Linked DNA regions of Homo sapiens: all the other regions are linked to region 5. Evidence: promoter capture Hi-C in 16 types of primary human blood cells and fetal thymus (Javierre and others, 2016). All regions are on one chromosome and are shown on one strand. The core of a region is centred on a gene start or on the middle of the fragment in contact, and the rest is flanking DNA. Distances in the headings are between cores, read along the strand shown. Region 1 overlaps INPP5B (inositol polyphosphate-5-phosphatase B). Region 2 overlaps MIR3659HG (MIR3659 host gene). Region 3 overlaps SF3A3 (splicing factor 3a subunit 3). Region 4 overlaps UTP11 (UTP11 small subunit processome component). Region 5 holds the start of RRAGC (Ras related GTP binding C).

Region 1 (3,276 bases), core at 277-2,776, 970 kb before region 5:
AACGCGGGAGGGAGAGGTTGCAGTGAGCTGAGATCACGCCACTGCACTCCAGCCTGGGAGACAGAGTGAGACTCCATCTCAAAAACAAACAAACAAAAAAAAAACCCTACAGACTTTCAAAATGTTTTGTCTTAATCTTTATAATAATCCTGTGGTATTATCTATATTGTACAGATTAAAAAAAAAAAGAAGGCAGAATGACTAGCCAGTCAATGGCAAAGCTGAATCCACAACCTAACTCTCTCGAACTCCTGGCCTCAAGTGATCCACCCACCTCAGCCTCCCAAAGTGCTGGGATTACAGGTGTGAGCCACCACACCCAGCCCCAAAACCTAGCTCCCTTAATCCAGTGTTCTTTTCACTAAATCACAGGCAAACCATAGGTACCCTTTGAAAACACAAAGCTAAGCTCTCACAGAAGAACCTAAAAACAGAACTTTAATGGCCTCAATAAGAAGAGGAAATTGCAAACCTACTGTCAGCATTCTTTGTTTTTCTGAATGACCCAGCATAGTTTCTGCAACATACTTCATGGGTGAAATGGGAGGATCAACTGGAGGCTCTAGTGTTGGGGAATATGAGGACAGGCGCTAATTGGTTAAATCAGCAGGTAGTTCACTAAAACAGTTTCTAAATAGTTTGCTCGACTGAGCCCTGCTTGAGGGTATGATTCATCTTGGAATATTGGCACCTTCAAACTGGGACACGTGTAGTCACTGTGTCATCAGAAGTGGTCAATACCTCAGGAGCTAAGGTCCTCAATGTGCCAAACAAACCAACCAAGGACTCACCATCCTCCCCATGATTCCTGTCCCCACAGTCTCGGCTTCCACTTCTGAGATATAAGCTGCATGCTCCTGTTTGACATATAACAGCAGCATAATCCCAACCAGTCGGATAAGCTTCACCTGGAAAAGAGAGACATGGCATTAAATAGAAATTGCAAACAGGAATAAATACCCCAAAGGAAACATAGTCTGGAAGCTGGCTGAGAGTATTCACGTGTCTCCTTCTCCACACTAGAACACAGGTAATCATCTGTTCAATTCACCAAGCATGCTATGTGCTAACCTACGAGTGGCGAGACCCTGCATCTTTCCCACCCGGAGGCACCCCTTCTGGAAGATCTGGAAATGAAAATTGCGGGATAATTAAGACTGGCTTAAGATAAAGGTCATGGAAAAGGTGAAAAATGATCTTGGAATTTCCCTGCATGGCAACATAAAATTAAGAGGTCCCTGACTCCTCTCTTACCTTTGCATATTTGGCATCTGGATGAAGACCCTCTGACACAGCTTTGAACCACTCTTCCTCCTTTGGGGTATCGTGAAAGAAAAAAGCTTCCTTACTCAGATCAAGCTCCTGGAACCTATTTTGAGAAGCAACCAGTTAGATAGTAAAGAAAAGTAATGTGCAAATGACACATTCTCAGATTGGTTTAGGTGCATAAGCCCTAGCTTTCTAGCTAAACTTCAGGACCCTCAGGAGGAAAAAATAAACATTTAGAGCCAAGGAACTAAATGCCAAGGAACTTTGCAGGTGCTGTTGCAAACAAAAACCCATTTTCTTTTCATGACCAGCCTATGAAGTAGTTCGAAGTGTCCCTATTTTACATCTGTAACCCCTAGTTCACACAAGCACCAAGTGGCAAACTGGGATTCAAACCTTGGTCTACATAAATTATGAATTCTAGTTCTTTTCAATATACCATACAAGCTTTGCTGCCCCTCCCCACTAGTAATGCCCAGTATAGAGATGAGAAGATTAAAAAAAAAAAAGACTAACTGATGGGACTTTCTTCAGCTAACCTTTCTTCTCTGGCAGAAGATAGTTTTGCTTTGTAACCAAAAATGTATTGAATGTCCAAGCAATAAAGTTCAGTTCAGGATGCACTGAGTTCAGGATGCAATTCAGGATTTTAACAGAAGATTACACTAAAAATTAAATACTAGCACTTAAATGCCAAGCACCCCACTTTAATAGTGGCAGACATTTGCTTGCCATGAGGAAGAACATCAAACAGGGAAACAGCTGTTATCAGGCATCTGTTCATTTTTCAAATCCTTCACCTGTTGTGAAGACCCATCCTTCAACCACAGCTCTGTGTGCTTGAAGATGGAGAGGGGACTAGAAGAGAAGCACTCACCCTACACAATAGACATCTGGGGCCTGGATACCATTGCTCAGCCACAGCCGGAGGCATTCTTTGGGGGACTGCCCATTTACATTGTATGTTCCCGCAAAAAACCTGTCACCAAAGAGAAATAATTAGTGACTCCGAATCACTATGGAGATAACAGGAGAAAGCATTTTATGCTGATTTATGCTGGTTTCCGTCTCTGTGGACTGGCATTTTGAGACATAAGAAATGTCATTTCTAACCTAGACCAGGACTGCAGCACCAAGGAGTGACTTGCGGTCTGTCATGGTATCTGTTACTTTTGTGATAACAACTTCAAATAGTATAGGCCTACTCCGAACATTCCCACTTCCTTTAAACAGCCATTACCCAGGCATTATCTGCATAATTATTTGCCTTGTATATACTACTGAAATGAAAAAATGAAAAGTGCTTTGGTAATTACTTTTGGCAAGAAAGCAACACCAGTATTCAAAAGGCTATTTCTTCACCATAATTCACAGTTTGTATCCCTAGAAACAATGTTATTTTATCTTATAGTCCCAATGCAACGATTTTGAAAGATCTAGCAGAATCCCACAACCTTTATTAATTTAGCTTTTAGTAATCTTGCCTAAAAAGATTACCAAACACCAGCTAACTTCATTTTAGTAATTTCATTTTAAATGACTTTCTTCAAAGGCCCAGAATGCCAAGGGAGTATAAAACCTTGGAGGGATACATAAGAATCAAGAGGCCAGGTGTGGTGGTTCACACTTATAATCTCAACAATTTGGGAGGCCAAGGCGGGAGGATTGCCCAAGCCCAGGAGCTTGAGACCCATGTGGGCAACACAGTGCGACCCTGTCTCTACAAAAATTTAAAAATCAGCACATGTGTATTACCAGCTACTCCAGCAGCTGAGGTGGGAGGGTTACTTGGGCCCAGGAGGCTGAGGGTACAGTGAGCTGTGACTGCACCACTGCACTCCAGCCTGGGCAACAAAGCGAGACCTTGTCTCAAAAAGATAAAACATAAATAAATAAAAGAATCAGGATGGCGCTCCTTCTTCTGTACCCATTTGTCTCCACAAATATTTCTGTAACTATCTGCAAGTCGTGTCACTCCCACTATACCACACCTATCACCGTGCCCAC
Region 2 (3,146 bases), core at 419-2,918, 790 kb before region 5:
GTCCCGATGGCTGTGTAAATCATGCCTGCACCCTGGAGAGCGTGAACTGCAGGGAGAAATCACGCCTGGGCCTGCAGGGGTGACAGCTCAAGCCTGAACAGCTGGACCCTGTGGGGAGTCGGCTGCTTGCACTGAGCTCCTCCTATTCTCCTTGCCCTGGATGGGGAAGGAACTATCATTAACTGAGCACCTAACGAGTGCCAGGAACTTTATAAACATCATCCTGAATCCTCACACCAGCCCCACAAACTAGGAATTACTATCACCATCTTAAAGAATGGAACTGAGGCTGGAAGAAGGGAGGTCATTTGCCTGAAGTTACACAGCTCAGCTGGTTTGTATCTGACACAGTCTGGCTTTGAGCTTAGGTTTATCTGGCTCCTACTGCATCTACTGCCTCCTAGTGTCATAGTTAGAAGAGACTGTAGAGAACTTAGCACAGTGCCACCCCTTCCACAAGCATTCCTTGGTTACTAGCTAGAGTCAACCCCTCTGTTGTCTGTTTCCTGTACTGACTTTGAACCACTTAGGAGGCTTTGCTCACACCCAGTGGCCTTCCATGACTCTCTACCTGCTGTGCTTTCTGATACATGGCTCCTTGGGCTTTTGCACACTCATAGCTATGCATCTAGTTCCAGGACTATTGAGTTCTTGTTTTTCTTCTTTTCTAAACCATAAGCTCCGTGAGGGTAGCGGCTACACCTGCTTGATTCGCCCGTGTATTTCCAGGATCTAGTATAGTATACAGCACATAAAGGTGATGGATAAATTTTTTATCGAGTGACTGGATGGAATAATGAATGAATGAATGTAGTCACACCAGGGAGGAGAAGGAGGAGATGTCAATATGGCCACACCTCCTCTGTGCAGGTCAGTTACATTCCCAAAGCCCAGTGGAGGTCTGAGTGGGTAGGGAGGATTCTGGAACCTCATGTCCAGGCCCCAACTCAGTGCCAATCTTAGCTTTCACCTCAACATCAAATTTTAGCCCTTGACCCAACTCAAACTCCAAACTTAGCCTCAACTCCTAATCCATTTCCAACTCTGATCTCAGCCTCAAGTCCAAACTCAACACCTGACCCCACCTCAGCTCCAACCTAATCACAGCCTTCACCTCAGCTATAGCCCCACCCCTATTTCCATTTCAAAATCAGCTTCTATCTCAGCCACAACTTAAATACAGATCCAACTTCCACCTTAGCCCCCATTCCAGACCTCAACCCCAGCATCACTAGTCAAAAGCAGTAGCTCCTCCTCACCTGTGAGCAGGGAGCAGCCATGGTCCTCAGATGTTGACTGTCCCATAAGCCTGTCATCCTTTCCCCCACCTGCCTTACAGCTTGGAGAGGGGAGGAGTCCTGCTGGCCTCTTGTGAGAACTCAGTAATATTTTTCCACACCCGTCTCATGGTTACAGTTCACAAACCACACACATGTCCATCAGCCCACCAGGTAGATCCCCTAACCGCTCAGGGAGAGGTCTGCATTTCTTTATGTTACACTGGCAGAAATGGAGGTTATTAAATGCTTTGGCTGGTTTGTGATAAAGGGGGTGCTCTAAGCCAGCTTTTCTAAGTTTCATGCTGTCCCTAGTCTCCCTGACCTGGGTAGAAGATGAGAGGGGCCCTTGGTTCTGTGTGTGTGGGTGTAACAGCAGGGACCCCTTACCCCCAGCCCTCAGCACCCTTGGGTGGTCTCCACTAAGGGCTATGACAGAAACATTCTGAATGTTTCCCACCCTGAGCTCAGGAGAGCTTGTATCAAGAGAGAGGCGAGTGATACAGGACTAGTGAAGTGTGTGGTGGATTTGAGGAGTGTTTGGTTAGGGGCCTGGCAGCAAACAGAATCTACTCCTAATGGTTTCTATGCAGCGACTGTGATGAATGGGCTACCTACAAAGGCCTGGGTGAAGATTTTAGGAAGCAGCAAGAGAGGTGGGGCTCCAGGGACTAGCAACAGTCAGAAGCCCTTACCACCTCAAGGGCTGATGAGACGAGGGGAGGGAATGGTGTTGTGGAGGAGGGAATGCCTGGTGCAAGCCGTAGTCATGGAGAAACACAGCCACTGCTAAAAATGTTGCCCAGGAAGGAGGGAGTGAGGAGGGAATCCCTGACCTCCCTCTTCCCCTTCCCTCCAACTTCTGCCGGTGCCTCCCACCAGCTGAACCCAACCAGGGGCACCCAGGCCAGGCAGTTCCCTGGGGTCAGTCTCCTGGGGCACAGCTCAGGGCTGAGAAGGGCAGGGTGTGAATCTGGGCCAGGGGATCAAATGGAGAATAAACAGCATGGGGAGAAAGCAAGAGCAAAGGGCAGGTCTTCCAGGAGAGACAGACAGACAAAGAAAAAGCAAGGGAGGTGGAGAGTGTGTGAGAGAGGGAGTGAGAAAGGGCTCAGCCATTTGTCTGGGCAGGTCTGCGGAACTCAAATCCGGCTCATCTGCATCTCCTCAAATAAACTTCTGGGAAGTGAATGCCTGAAGCAGGCAGAGTGCAGAGAAGTCAGCAAATATGTGCGTAGTGAATTCCAAGCCTTCTGTTCCCAGCTCCTGGGAGGGGCCGCAGTGCCTTGGGGTGTCCTGCCGTGTCTCCATCGGGTCCCCTGCCTGGCTGCTCTAACCCTGAGGAATGGCCTCCATTGTGGGCCTGTGGAAACAGGGAGAAGAATCTCTTATCCAGCAGGTCTGAGGGCCACAGGAACATAAGTAACACTGAAGAGTGAGGCTGATCCCTGGGGTTTGCGCGAGCCTGCAAATGCATGATTCAACAGCACTCGCCTGGTGCCTCTGGGAGGCAAGCTGGATGAGGATGTTGTTCCCATTTTATAGATGAGGAAACTGAGGCTCATTGGGAAGGGACTTTCCCAAGGCTATGTTATGAGTTAGTTGCAGAGCTTTGAACTTGGGCCCAGACTGAGCCTGAAACCTGACCTTACACTGAGTCCCAGCCCCAGTCCCTGAACATGGTCTCTGAACATGGCTCAGATTTTGCCCCAAAAGCATCTGGACCAGGAGGTTGGAGCGGCCTGGGATACCCCCTGAATACTTTCATACTAATTCTGCTATGGACAGATGCCTGCAATCCCCTAGAGGCTTGGACATTTTCCAAAGGAAACTTTTACTGAAGAAAGATCATCTTTATTTATGAAATAC
Region 3 (3,257 bases), core at 265-2,764, 890 kb before region 5:
TCTAACACAAGCTTACTGAGGGTACTTCTATATTTTCCTTTATATCAGTCATTATTTAACACATTAAAATCAATTCAGAAAACTATCCATACAACCATTCAATCAAAATCTTGCATAAAAGGGAGTTCACAGACCCAGGCTAAAAGCCCTGGTTTATACTCAGCACAGAGCTCTTCTCAAAGGAGAAACAATCAGTATTGCCGACTAATTCATTTCTCTTAAAAATGCAATAATTAGCTGGGCACGGTGGATCACGCCTGTAATCGCAGCACTTTGGGAGGCCGAGGTGGGCAGATCACCTGAGGTCAGGAGTTCAAGACCAGCCTGACCAACATGGAGAAACCCGTCTCTACTAAAAGTACAAAATTAGCCAGGCATGGTGGCGCATACTTGTAATCCCAGCTACTCGGGAGGCTGAGGCAGGAGAATCGCTTGAACCCAGGAGGCACAGGTTGCAGTGAGCCGAGATCGCACCATTGCACTCCAGCCTGGGCAATATGAGCGAAACTCCATCTCAAAAAAAAAAAAAAAAAAAAAAAAAATGCAATAATTAGGCGCGGTGGCTCACGCCTGTTATCCCAGCACTTTGGGAGGCCAACATGGGTGGATCACTTGAGGTCAGGAGTTCGTCACCTCAACCAGCCTGGCCAACATGATGAAAGCCCATCTCTACTAAAAATAGAAAAATTAGCTGGGCATGGTGGCACATGCCTGTAATCCCAGGTACTAGGGAGGCTGAGGCAGGAGAATTGCTTGAGCCCAGGAGACGGAGGTTGCAGGAGCCAAGATCGTGCCACTGCACTCCAGCCTGGTGACAGAGTGAGACTCGTCTCAGAAACAAAGGCTGGGCATGGTGGCTCACGCCTATAATCCCAGCACTTTGGGAGGCTGAAGTGGGCGGATCACCTGAGGTCGGGAGTTCAAGGCCATCCTGGCTCACACAGTGAAACCCCGTCTCTACTAAAAATACAAAAAATTAGCCAGGTGTGGCGGCTCATGCCTGTAATCCCAGCACTTTGGGAGGCCAAGGCGGGCGGATCATGAGGTCAGGAGATCAAGACCATCCTGGCTAACACTGTGAAACCCTGTCTCTACTAAAAACACAAAAAATTAGCCAAGTGTGGTGGCGGGCGCCTGTAGTCCCAGCTACCGGGAGGCTGAGGCAGGAGAATGGCATGAACCCAGGAGGTGGAACTTGCAGTGAGCCGAGATCATGCCACTGCACTCCAACCTGGGCGACAGAGTGAGACTCCGTCACAAAAAAAAAAAAAAAAAAAAAAAAAAAAAAAAATTAGCCAGGTGTGGTGGCACGTGCCTGTAGTCCCAGCTACTCGGTAGGCTGAGGCAGGAGAATCGCTTGCGCCCGGGAGGCAGAGGTTGCAGTGGGCCAAGACTGCACCATTACACTCCAGCCTGGCGACAGAGCGAGACTCCATCCATCTCAAAACAAAACAAAAAAACACAAAACAAAAAACAGAAATGCAATAATTATACAACTGTCCTAGATTTTACATATCCACAACCTACTGCCTTTAACCCTGGATACACAGGGTATTAGGATGCTGAATTGAAGGAGTAGAGCCATTTGTACTCGCCTAGGAGACAGTAAATAAATCTTACTTACAGGAGACAGCATCTTCAATCTGTGTCACATTAGCAAAGTGAGCAGTGTTTGGGATGCCCAAACACCTCATGCCATGAGCATGACGCCATTCCTGGGAGAAGAGAGAAGCAAAAGGATCATGTGAAATGGGAATAGCTGAACACAGAGCACTAACTCCATTCTACTCATAAATCCTAACATGGCCCTTTGCAAGACTCCACCTAAAGGTAGCATTCCTTTTGTGATTCATGTTTGTAAACAGCTGGCTGTGACTGACAAAAGGGTGGTATTTCAAAGCAGCACTGCATTGTTTGCCTCACTGGGTTGGCTTGTAAACCTAGATTCTAGACCCAGTAGTCTTATACATAAAACCTCTGGGTCAAGATCACAGAAAAACATCACAACTCTCACTACATCTCCCATATTGCAGGAGAACTTACCAAAGCCCCAGCAACTCCAAACACCTGCATGAATAGGGGTTACTAATGGCAGGTCAGCATCATCTTTGTAGGTAAAGGAGAAGACTTTTATTAGGCACAATGATGTGGTGAGGAGAGAGCAGGGAGATTATACACTGACATGATGGCAGTTTTAACTAAGGGATGGTAAATGGCATGGGCTTTATCCTGGATGCCAACTCCAATCATTGTAGGAGGTGCTGAGAAGGATTCAGAACTCACTCATGGGCTCAGCAAAAAAGACCCATTATCAATTAGTAATATGTATGACTCAGAGAGGGGGAGAGGAGTTCATATAAATTTGTCATCCTTGGTCTAGCATAAATGTTTTCCTTTCTGTAAAATTTCCTTCCAAAATCTAAGAACTCTAAGTAGAGCCCACTTAGAGGTGAGCCCACTTACAGCAGTATCATCCGGACAATACCCTGTCTCAAGAATGGCTTGATAAATATCAGCCCCTTCATTTTTTATTTTCTCAAGAGGCAAAGATCCATTTAAGATCTGAAAGAGATCAGTCAGCCCTATTTTTTATCTTGAGTATTAGCAATGGGGTAGAGAAATAACCAAGAAGTCAGAAATTGGTCTAAAATGCTAGCAGAAAGACAAAAACAGAGAAGTTTAAGAGCAGGCAAGAGAAAACCAAATAAGGTTCAAAGAGTGGTGCGGTAGAATTCCTCCAGAAACTATCTCAGGTATTTAAGACTAACATTGGTGCCAAAAGTCAAATGCCATGGGCTTGATTTTAAAACCATCCTTCTCTGATTCCCTTCAGCTCTGGACACCAGTGGTCCACATAGGCTGCTCCTACTCTTTTCTCTAAAAGTCTCATGTTTTTACTTCAATTCCCAGGAAAAATGGCTCTGAATTCCTTACAGCAAAGTGTCGCTGGAAGGCTTTGGGCCCTCGGTAGGTGTAGTTTCCACAAATCTCACAGTTGTAGTTGATATTTAGGCCATGAAGCTTATACAGCCAGTAGGGAATAGGCTAAAAAAGAAAAAAACAAAACAAAACCAAGAAGTGTTAGCCTACTAAACTCTGTATCTGTTTCCAAAATGGGGAATGGGGAGAAAGTGGTAGTGCTGAGACTTACTTTGCCATCCCAGCCAAGTGGCAGGTTTTTGGGGTTGTAAATGATCTCGTTCTCTTCATCTTCACTCTCACTCTCACTGATCTGCTCTTCTTCCTCTTCTTCTCGC
Region 4 (3,466 bases), core at 205-2,704, 840 kb before region 5:
TTTAAAATAATTTTTAAAATTTATTTTATTTTATTTTTTAGTCAGAGTCTCACTGTCTCCCAGGCTGGAGTGCAGTGGCACGATCTCGGCTCACTGCAACCTCCGCCTCCTGGGTTCAAGCAATTCTCATGCCTCAGCCTCCCCAGTAACTGGGACTATAGGGGTGCAACACCACACCCAGCTTATTTCTGTATTTTTCATAGAGATGGGGTTTCGCCATGTTGGCCAGGCTGGTCTTGAACTCCTGACCTCAGTTGATCTGCCTGCCTTGGCCTCCCAAAGTGTCGGGATTACAAGCGTGAGCCACTGTGCCTGGCCTAAAATAATTATTTATTTATGGAAAACTCATGAGTTCCCTTAGAAAAGTGGATTTGTAGGATGATTTGATGATGGGATGGAAGTGGAGAAGGGCTTCCTAATTTCTATGATCGGAGGAGGTATAGTGGTCAGAAGCTTAGGTTCTGGCCTTTAGACCTGGGTTTGAATCCCAATTCTGACCCTGCGCTTTGTGCTTTTAATACTTGTAACAGATGCCAGTGTTTTGAAAATGCAGAGAAAGGGATTGCTGAAGATTAAAGGATTTGCAATACTTTAATATTGAACCTTTAGCAGTGAATACGCACATCAAAAGGTCTTTCTGTGTTTTTATTTTTCTTGAGACAGGGTCTCACTGTCACCCAGGCTGGAGTGCAATGGTGTGATTATGGCTCACTGCAGTCTCCACCTTCTGGGCTTAAGCGATCCTCCTGCCTCAGCCTCCTGGGTAGCTGGGACCACAGGTGTGTGCCACCATGCCTAGCTAATTTTAAATTTTTTTTGTAGAAACGGGGTCTCGCTAAGTTGCCCAGGCTGGTCTTAAACTCCTGAGCTCAAGTGTTTACTCCCGCCTTGGCCTCCTGAAGTGTTGGGATTACAGGCGTGAGCCACCATGCCTGCCCAAAAGGTCTTTCATATTGTGTATTGTAACAAAAATTTTGTTTTGGCTTTTCCTTATGGTGCTTTCCGTCACTGTAACTGGGTTGTGCAGAAGACATGCTTTTCCTGAAAGCCTTCTGGAGTTGAACTCTTCTGACTGATTCATTAAAAAAAAATGCTGTCAATGTGTTTCAAGCAGACAGCTGTTCTGTTTTGATTTGAATCATTTACACTGCATCAGTTTTGCTTCCAATGTTTAATTTCACAGCAGTTTTCTCTAGCTCAGAGGCAGCTAAACTTGCTTTAGTAATATAAATACCCCTAATTAGTTTGACTATATTGGGTAATCCCATAAATCTGACAGTCTGTGCAATAAAGCGAAAACAAAAGCTGTCTGAAACCACTGCTGTGAGACTGTGCTAGAATCTGTGAATTGTTGAAGTCTAAGGCCCAGTAATATTTCCTTCTGTAGATAACACTTCCAGCCAAAGAGCTTGCTCATGAGTGTTCTTGTGATAACCCTGTTGTTTGTCAATTAGGTGTACTTTTTTTTTTTTTTGAGACGGAGTCTCACTCTGTCACCCAGGCTGGAGTGCGGTGGCGTGATATCGGCTCACTGCAACCTCTGCCTCCTGGGTTCAAGCAATTCTCTTGCCTCAGCCTCCCGAGTAGCTGGGATTACAGGTGCCCGCCACCACGCCTGGCTAATTTTTTGTATATTTAGTAGAGACAGGGTTTCACCATTTTGGCTAGGCTGGTCTTGAACTCCTGACCTTGTGATCCACCCACCTCAGCCTCCCAAAGTGCAGGGATTACAGGCGTGAGCTACCGCGCCCGGCAATTAGGTGTACTTTCAATTAGCCGTGTCACTGACGCTTCTCAAGAATTGTGGTAGTCCCTAAAGAGATTAGTATTCCAAATTCCCATGTAGAATAGTTCACCAGCATAGCTTTTGAGAAGTTAGGGAGGTTTAGATTTTTGCCATTTTTGTCTAGTAATTATGTTTCTTTCTATTTTGTTTACTGCAAAATCATTTTTATTAAGAGACTGCTGGTGGGTGGATTGCAAGGATATTTTGTCTGTAACTTCGAGTGGGTAGACAACCCATGAGTGAGCTTTAGGAGGTCTGAGAAAACCCCCCTTTCTCACTGGTATTTTGTGCAGATAGGTATATGTGCTTGCACAACCTTTTACAAATGTGTATGTACATTTATCTCAAGAAACATCCCATGCTGGGCGTGGTGGCTCATGCCTGTAGTCCCAGCAATTTGGGAGGCCAAGGCAGGTGGATCACTTGAGGTCAGGAGTTCGAGACTAGCCTGGCCAATGTAGTGAAACCCTGTCTCTACTAAAAATACAAAAATTAGCCAGGCGTGGTGGCGGGCACCTGTAATCCCAGCTACTAGGGAGGCTGAGGCAGCAGAATTGCTTGAACCCAGGAGGCGGAGGTTGTAGCGAGCCGAGATAGTGCCACTGCACTCCAGCCTGGGCGACAGAGCAAGACTCCGCCTCAGAAAAAAAAAAAAAAGAAGAAAGATCCCAAAGCTTTCATCAGTTTCTCTGAGGTTGATGATTCCCCAAAATGTAAGGACCCCACTGATCTTTGAGGAGTCATTAGCAGTGAGAATTCTCAGGTGAGCTTCTGCTGAAAAAATTCTTCTGCTTTCTGAGTGGTAAGATTTTCAGGCACCAGCACACTGCCTGGGGACCCTTCTGTTGCCGACTCTTCTGTTGCTCTCCATTCACTTTGTATAGGGTTTCCAACACTGATTCATTCCTGCCATCATCTCAGGTGACTGTGGCACTCACACAAAGGTTGAAGCAGCTTAGTGTAGTAGTGGAAAGATTCCTGGGATTTGTGAGAGGGGGACGGTCCTGACTCTGCTCCAGGTGAGCTGTGTGTCCTTGGACCACTTCTTCTCTGGGCCTCATTTTTCTGCGTTTGTAAATGACGGGTTTCGATAAGATAGTCTACAGGGTTCCTTTTTTAATTTTTAATTTTTTTTTTTTGAGACAGAGTCTCATTATGTTGCCTACGTTGGTCTGGAACTCCTGGGCTCAAGTGACCCTCCCTCCTCAGCCTCCCAAAGTGCTGGGATTACTGGCGTGAGCCACTGCGTCTGGCCCAGGGTTCCTTTCAGCTCCAGAATGTGATGTTCCTAAAATGGGCAACGTTATTGTTACCACGTTATGTTGATTCTGGTGAAAGAAGGGAGTTGATGAAACTATGCAGTTGGCTTAAATGGATTAAGAAACAGTTTCTTACTCATTTTTGTCCTGTTCATTGTTCACTGAGAATGTGTGTGTTTCTTCTCCAGCGAATAGCTAAAGAAAGGCAAAAGCAGTATAACTGCCTGACACAGCGGATTGAACGAGAGAAGAAATTGTTCGTTATTGCTCAGAAAATTCAAACACGCAAAGATCTTATGGTGAGGAGAGAGAGCCTTAGGCCTCTTTTTTTTTTTTTCCCCCTTTTCTTTCTTGTAAAGGTCTTAACTCAGACTAGATTTCAGCTGTGTGTAAATCAACCCCAGTGAAAATGTCTGCTCCT
Region 5 (3,360 bases), core at 72-2,571:
CACTTTGGGAGGCCAAGGCGGATGATCACTTGAGGTCAGCAGTTCGAGATGACCCTGGCCAACATGGTGAAACCCCGTCTCTACTAAAAATACAATAATTAGCCGGGCGTGGTGGCGCGCGCCTGTAATCCCAGCTATTCGGGAGGCTGAGGCGGGAGAATTACTTGAACCAGGGAGGTGGAGGTTGCAGTGAGCCGAGATTGCACCACTGCATTCTCCAGCCTGGGCGACAGAGCGAGAGACTCCGTCTCAAAAACATAAACAAACAAACGTGTACAGCCCTCCATTTGTTCATGAAGGCCCAAAAGTGAAAACAAACAGACTAGGTCTGCAAAATATTCTCAAAGTCTCAGATTTTTAAAAACACACCCCTACAGGGGGAACAGCACCAGTAATTACATTCACCAGGCCACAACTACTGAAATGGGTGCAATCTCACTACCCAATTCCCAGTAATGCTACAGCGAAGTCTCCTTCACATCAGTAGCGAGAATTACAACGCCCAGTGTCTTAGTCACAACTCTTCCTGACGCTGCTCCCTGGGGCTCTGCTGGGAATCCCGAAACACTCAGGTCACCTGAAGTGAGAACAAATCAAAACGGGCCAGGGGAGGGAGTCCACGAAGTTCTCCAAGTGAGAACTGGAGAGTACGTCTCAGTTTCGTAAATGACACAGGAGCTGGGTCCCAGGGGGCGGAGGTCTTGGGCGGTGCCACCGGGCACCTGCCTCCCGGCAACCAGTTTCGCCTTCAGCGCTCCACTTGGCTTCAGCTGACTTGGGCGTGGACACAGAGGTCGGGGTCCCCGCGCGGGCCGCGCCTGTGCGCTCGCAAGAGTGGAAGAGAAAGTGCGGAGGGACGGAGCGCAGGCGGGCCCCGGCCGCCGCCCTCCCGGGCGTCCCCGCTACCGGCCACCTGAGAACCGGGGAGGGGGCGGGGGACTGGGCGCAGCCCTGCTCACCTTCTGGATGGAGGACTTGCCGCTGCGCCGGAGTCCCATGAGCAGAATCCTCGGCTTGGAGCTGTCAGCGCCCCCCGGACCACAGCCACCGCCTGCCCCTGCCCCAACCCCTCCGCCCGCCGCCGCCGCCTCCTCTTCCTCCTCCTCCACGCCGTAGCCGAAGTCCTTTGGAAACGAATCGGCCGCGCCGTAACTGCCGGCGAGGGGCGTCTCCTCCGCCCCGTACTGCAGGGACATGGTGCTGGAGCCGCCGCCGCCCGCGCCCTGACAGGCCAGGCCAGGCCGAGCCAGGCCGCCGCCTCCCCAGTCCGCCTCCGCCGCCGCCGCCACCACCGCCACCGCCCCCGGCAGCCGCCACAGTCCGGCCCGCCCCCCGGAGCCCGGCTCTCATAGGCCCCGAGCCGAAGCCCAGCCGCTTATTGGCCGCCCGAGCTGCTACTCGAGAGCAGCAGGGTAGGTGGTGCCCCGTCACGTGCCGGAATCACCTGACTCAGAGCCGCGGAGGGGGGAGGAGGAGTCACGAGGAGGGCGGCCCGGCCGCGCCTCTAGCCCCGGCTCGGGCCCTCAGCCCTCCGCCCCGGCCCGCATACAACGCTGTCTGCACCGCTCCCCTGCCTTCTTCCGGGCTCCCAGAGCACCGCTATGGAGATGCTCTCCCGGCATTTGAGGAAGAATTGATTGTCCTCATCCTGCAACTGTACTTGCCCAACCGATATTTATTGATGCCTGCAGTGTCCTGGGTGCCTACCAAGGGGCACAGAACTGGATCCGACGCAGACCCTGCCTGCCTTCAGGTTGCTTGAAGATGAACAGAGAGATCGGACCTCTGCGTAAGTAACCTCGCTACGAAATATTATGTGGGAAGGTCACGGATAAATAATGCTCGGGAGTTGAATGAGAAAGCGTCTGAGCAGATCTAGGTGGATGGATAGATTGGGATGTGCAAAGGTATGGGGGAGCCAGCCACACTGAGGGCAAACCTCAACCAAGGCAGAGTCATGGGTCACCGTGATAGTTTGTTCTAGCAGGTAGCTGGACCCTGATGGGAAAGCAGATGCAGCCAAGCTAGAACATCTTATCTTCTTTCTTCAGTAAGTCGCCGATAGTGGATACTGCTGCCACTTCAAACCCAACGGGACTCAATTTGCCCTCCTTCCCGCCTTGTCAAAGTCTACTCTAGGAATTCCATCCCCCATAGAACACTGCCTCTTCTATGACCTCGTTCAGATTAGAGACCAAAGTATTGAATAATGAAAGCAAACAAAAGCAAATGCTTGTCACCAAATATGTCCGAGAAATCTAGAGGAATTTTTATTTTTGATAATCAGGCTCTAGAACTGGAAGTTTGAGAAGAGGATCCTCTTAAAGCACAGCCCTATACACTTTTTAAAGTACAGGAGTGGGGGTGCTCCCAGCCCTCCAAGGAGACTGACTTCTTGATTATGAAGGAAAAATTCGCACATGCGGGCAGGTCTGGGACTTTGGTTTTGTCTGAACCCAGAAGTTAGAGGTAGGATACACCCTTAGAGGTCATCTAGCCCAACCTCTCACCTAAAACGAACCAACTCTATAGTGTCTAATAGACATGCAGAATGCACTTAAATAGTTCGAAGGTAAAAGAGCTCACCATCTCGAAAGGCAGCCAACTCCACTGTGGTAAACCTTTGTTTAAAAATTGTTAAAGCCGGCCGCGCGGTGGCTCACGCTTGTAATCCCAGCACTTTGGGAGGCAGAGGCGGGCGGATCATGAGGTCAGGAGATCGAGACCATCCTGGCTAACATGGTGAAACCCCATCTCTACTTAAAAAAATACAAAAAATTAGCCGGGCGTGGTGGCGGGCGCCTGTAGTCCCAGCTACTCGGGAGGCTGAGGCAGGAGAATGGCTTGAACCCAGGAGGCGGAGCTTGCAGTGAGCCGAGATCGCGCCACCGCACTCCAGCCTTGGCGACAGAGCGAGACTCCGTCTCAAAAAAAAAAAAAAGTCTTAAAGCCAAACCACACTCCCTGAAGCCTATAATAGAATAAAATAGGAATAGTCTTCACCTTTTTCATGACAGCCCTTCAAATACCAGATTGCAGTATTCATTACCCACTAAGTCTTCTCTGTTCCTTGCTGAACATCCTCAGTTTCAACCATTCCTATCGTGCTGTTCAATACAACTGATATACATGATAGACATGTTCTTTATCTGCACTGTCAAACATGTAGCCGCTAGTCCTATGAGGAATAAGCACTTGAATTGTTGCTAGTGTAACTGAGGAATTTTTTTTTTTTTTTTTTTTTTTTTTTTTGAGATGGAGTCTCGCTCTGTCGCCAGGCTGGAGTGCAGTGGCGCGATCTCAGCTCACTGCAACCTCTACCTCCCGGGTTCAAGCGATTCTCCTGCCTCAGCCTCCTGA

What was found. Contacts are between HindIII fragments. The CHiCAGO score rates a contact against its expected background, and 5 or more counts as called.
Region 1: a contact is called between a fragment that was not itself captured here and the fragment with the promoter of RRAGC in region 5, in 1 of 17 cell types (erythroblasts). The highest score is 5.9, in erythroblasts.
Region 2: a fragment that was not itself captured here is called in contact with the fragment with the promoter of RRAGC in region 5 in 1 of 17 cell types (M0 macrophages); the score reaches 5.7 in M0 macrophages.
Region 3: a contact is called between a fragment that was not itself captured here and the fragment with the promoter of RRAGC in region 5, in 1 of 17 cell types (endothelial precursors). The highest score is 5.4, in endothelial precursors.
Region 4: a fragment that was not itself captured here is called in contact with the fragment with the promoter of RRAGC in region 5 in 5 of 17 cell types (M1 macrophages, erythroblasts, monocytes and 2 more); the score reaches 6.8 in M1 macrophages.

What each region holds. Positions count from the first base shown.
Region 1 is chr1:37,886,097-37,889,372 of GRCh38, forward strand. It overlaps INPP5B (inositol polyphosphate-5-phosphatase B), which reads right to left. Exons shown (of 24, transcript NM_005540.3): 10 at 2,147-2,248; 11 at 1,255-1,369; 12 at 792-908. Among named protein-coding and RNA genes, the nearest start is that of MTF1, 28 kb to the left of the region's middle. The HindIII fragment of the contact is 376 bases long and covers 1,339-1,714 here.
Region 2 is chr1:38,071,657-38,074,802 of GRCh38, forward strand. The region is part of intron 1 of MIR3659HG (MIR3659 host gene); the gene reads left to right. Among named protein-coding and RNA genes, the nearest start is that of MIR3659, 16 kb to the right of the region's middle. RefSeq lists an enhancer at 1-180. The HindIII fragment of the contact is 5,724 bases long and covers 1-3,146 here.
Region 3 is chr1:37,966,420-37,969,676 of GRCh38, forward strand. SF3A3 (splicing factor 3a subunit 3) reads right to left here. Exons shown (of 17, transcript NM_006802.4): 13 at 3,152-3,257; 14 at 2,935-3,045; 15 at 1,625-1,715. Among named protein-coding and RNA genes, the nearest start is that of INPP5B, 21 kb to the left of the region's middle. The HindIII fragment of the contact is 3,010 bases long and covers 10-3,019 here.
Region 4 is chr1:38,019,466-38,022,931 of GRCh38, forward strand. UTP11 (UTP11 small subunit processome component) reads left to right here. Exons shown (of 8, transcript NM_016037.4): 7 at 3,234-3,344. Among named protein-coding and RNA genes, the nearest start is that of UTP11, 8.5 kb to the left of the region's middle. The HindIII fragment of the contact is 2,007 bases long and covers 452-2,458 here.
Region 5 is chr1:38,858,451-38,861,810 of GRCh38, forward strand. RRAGC (Ras related GTP binding C) reads right to left here and starts at 1,322. Exons shown (of 7, transcript NM_022157.4): 1 at 960-1,322. The coding sequence starts at 1,196. It overlaps RRAGC-DT (RRAGC divergent transcript), which reads left to right and starts at 1,443. Exons shown (of 2, transcript NR_186075.1): 1 at 1,443-1,789. RefSeq lists a silencer at 852-1,611 and an enhancer at 1,247-1,541. The HindIII fragment of the contact is 4,947 bases long and covers 1-3,360 here.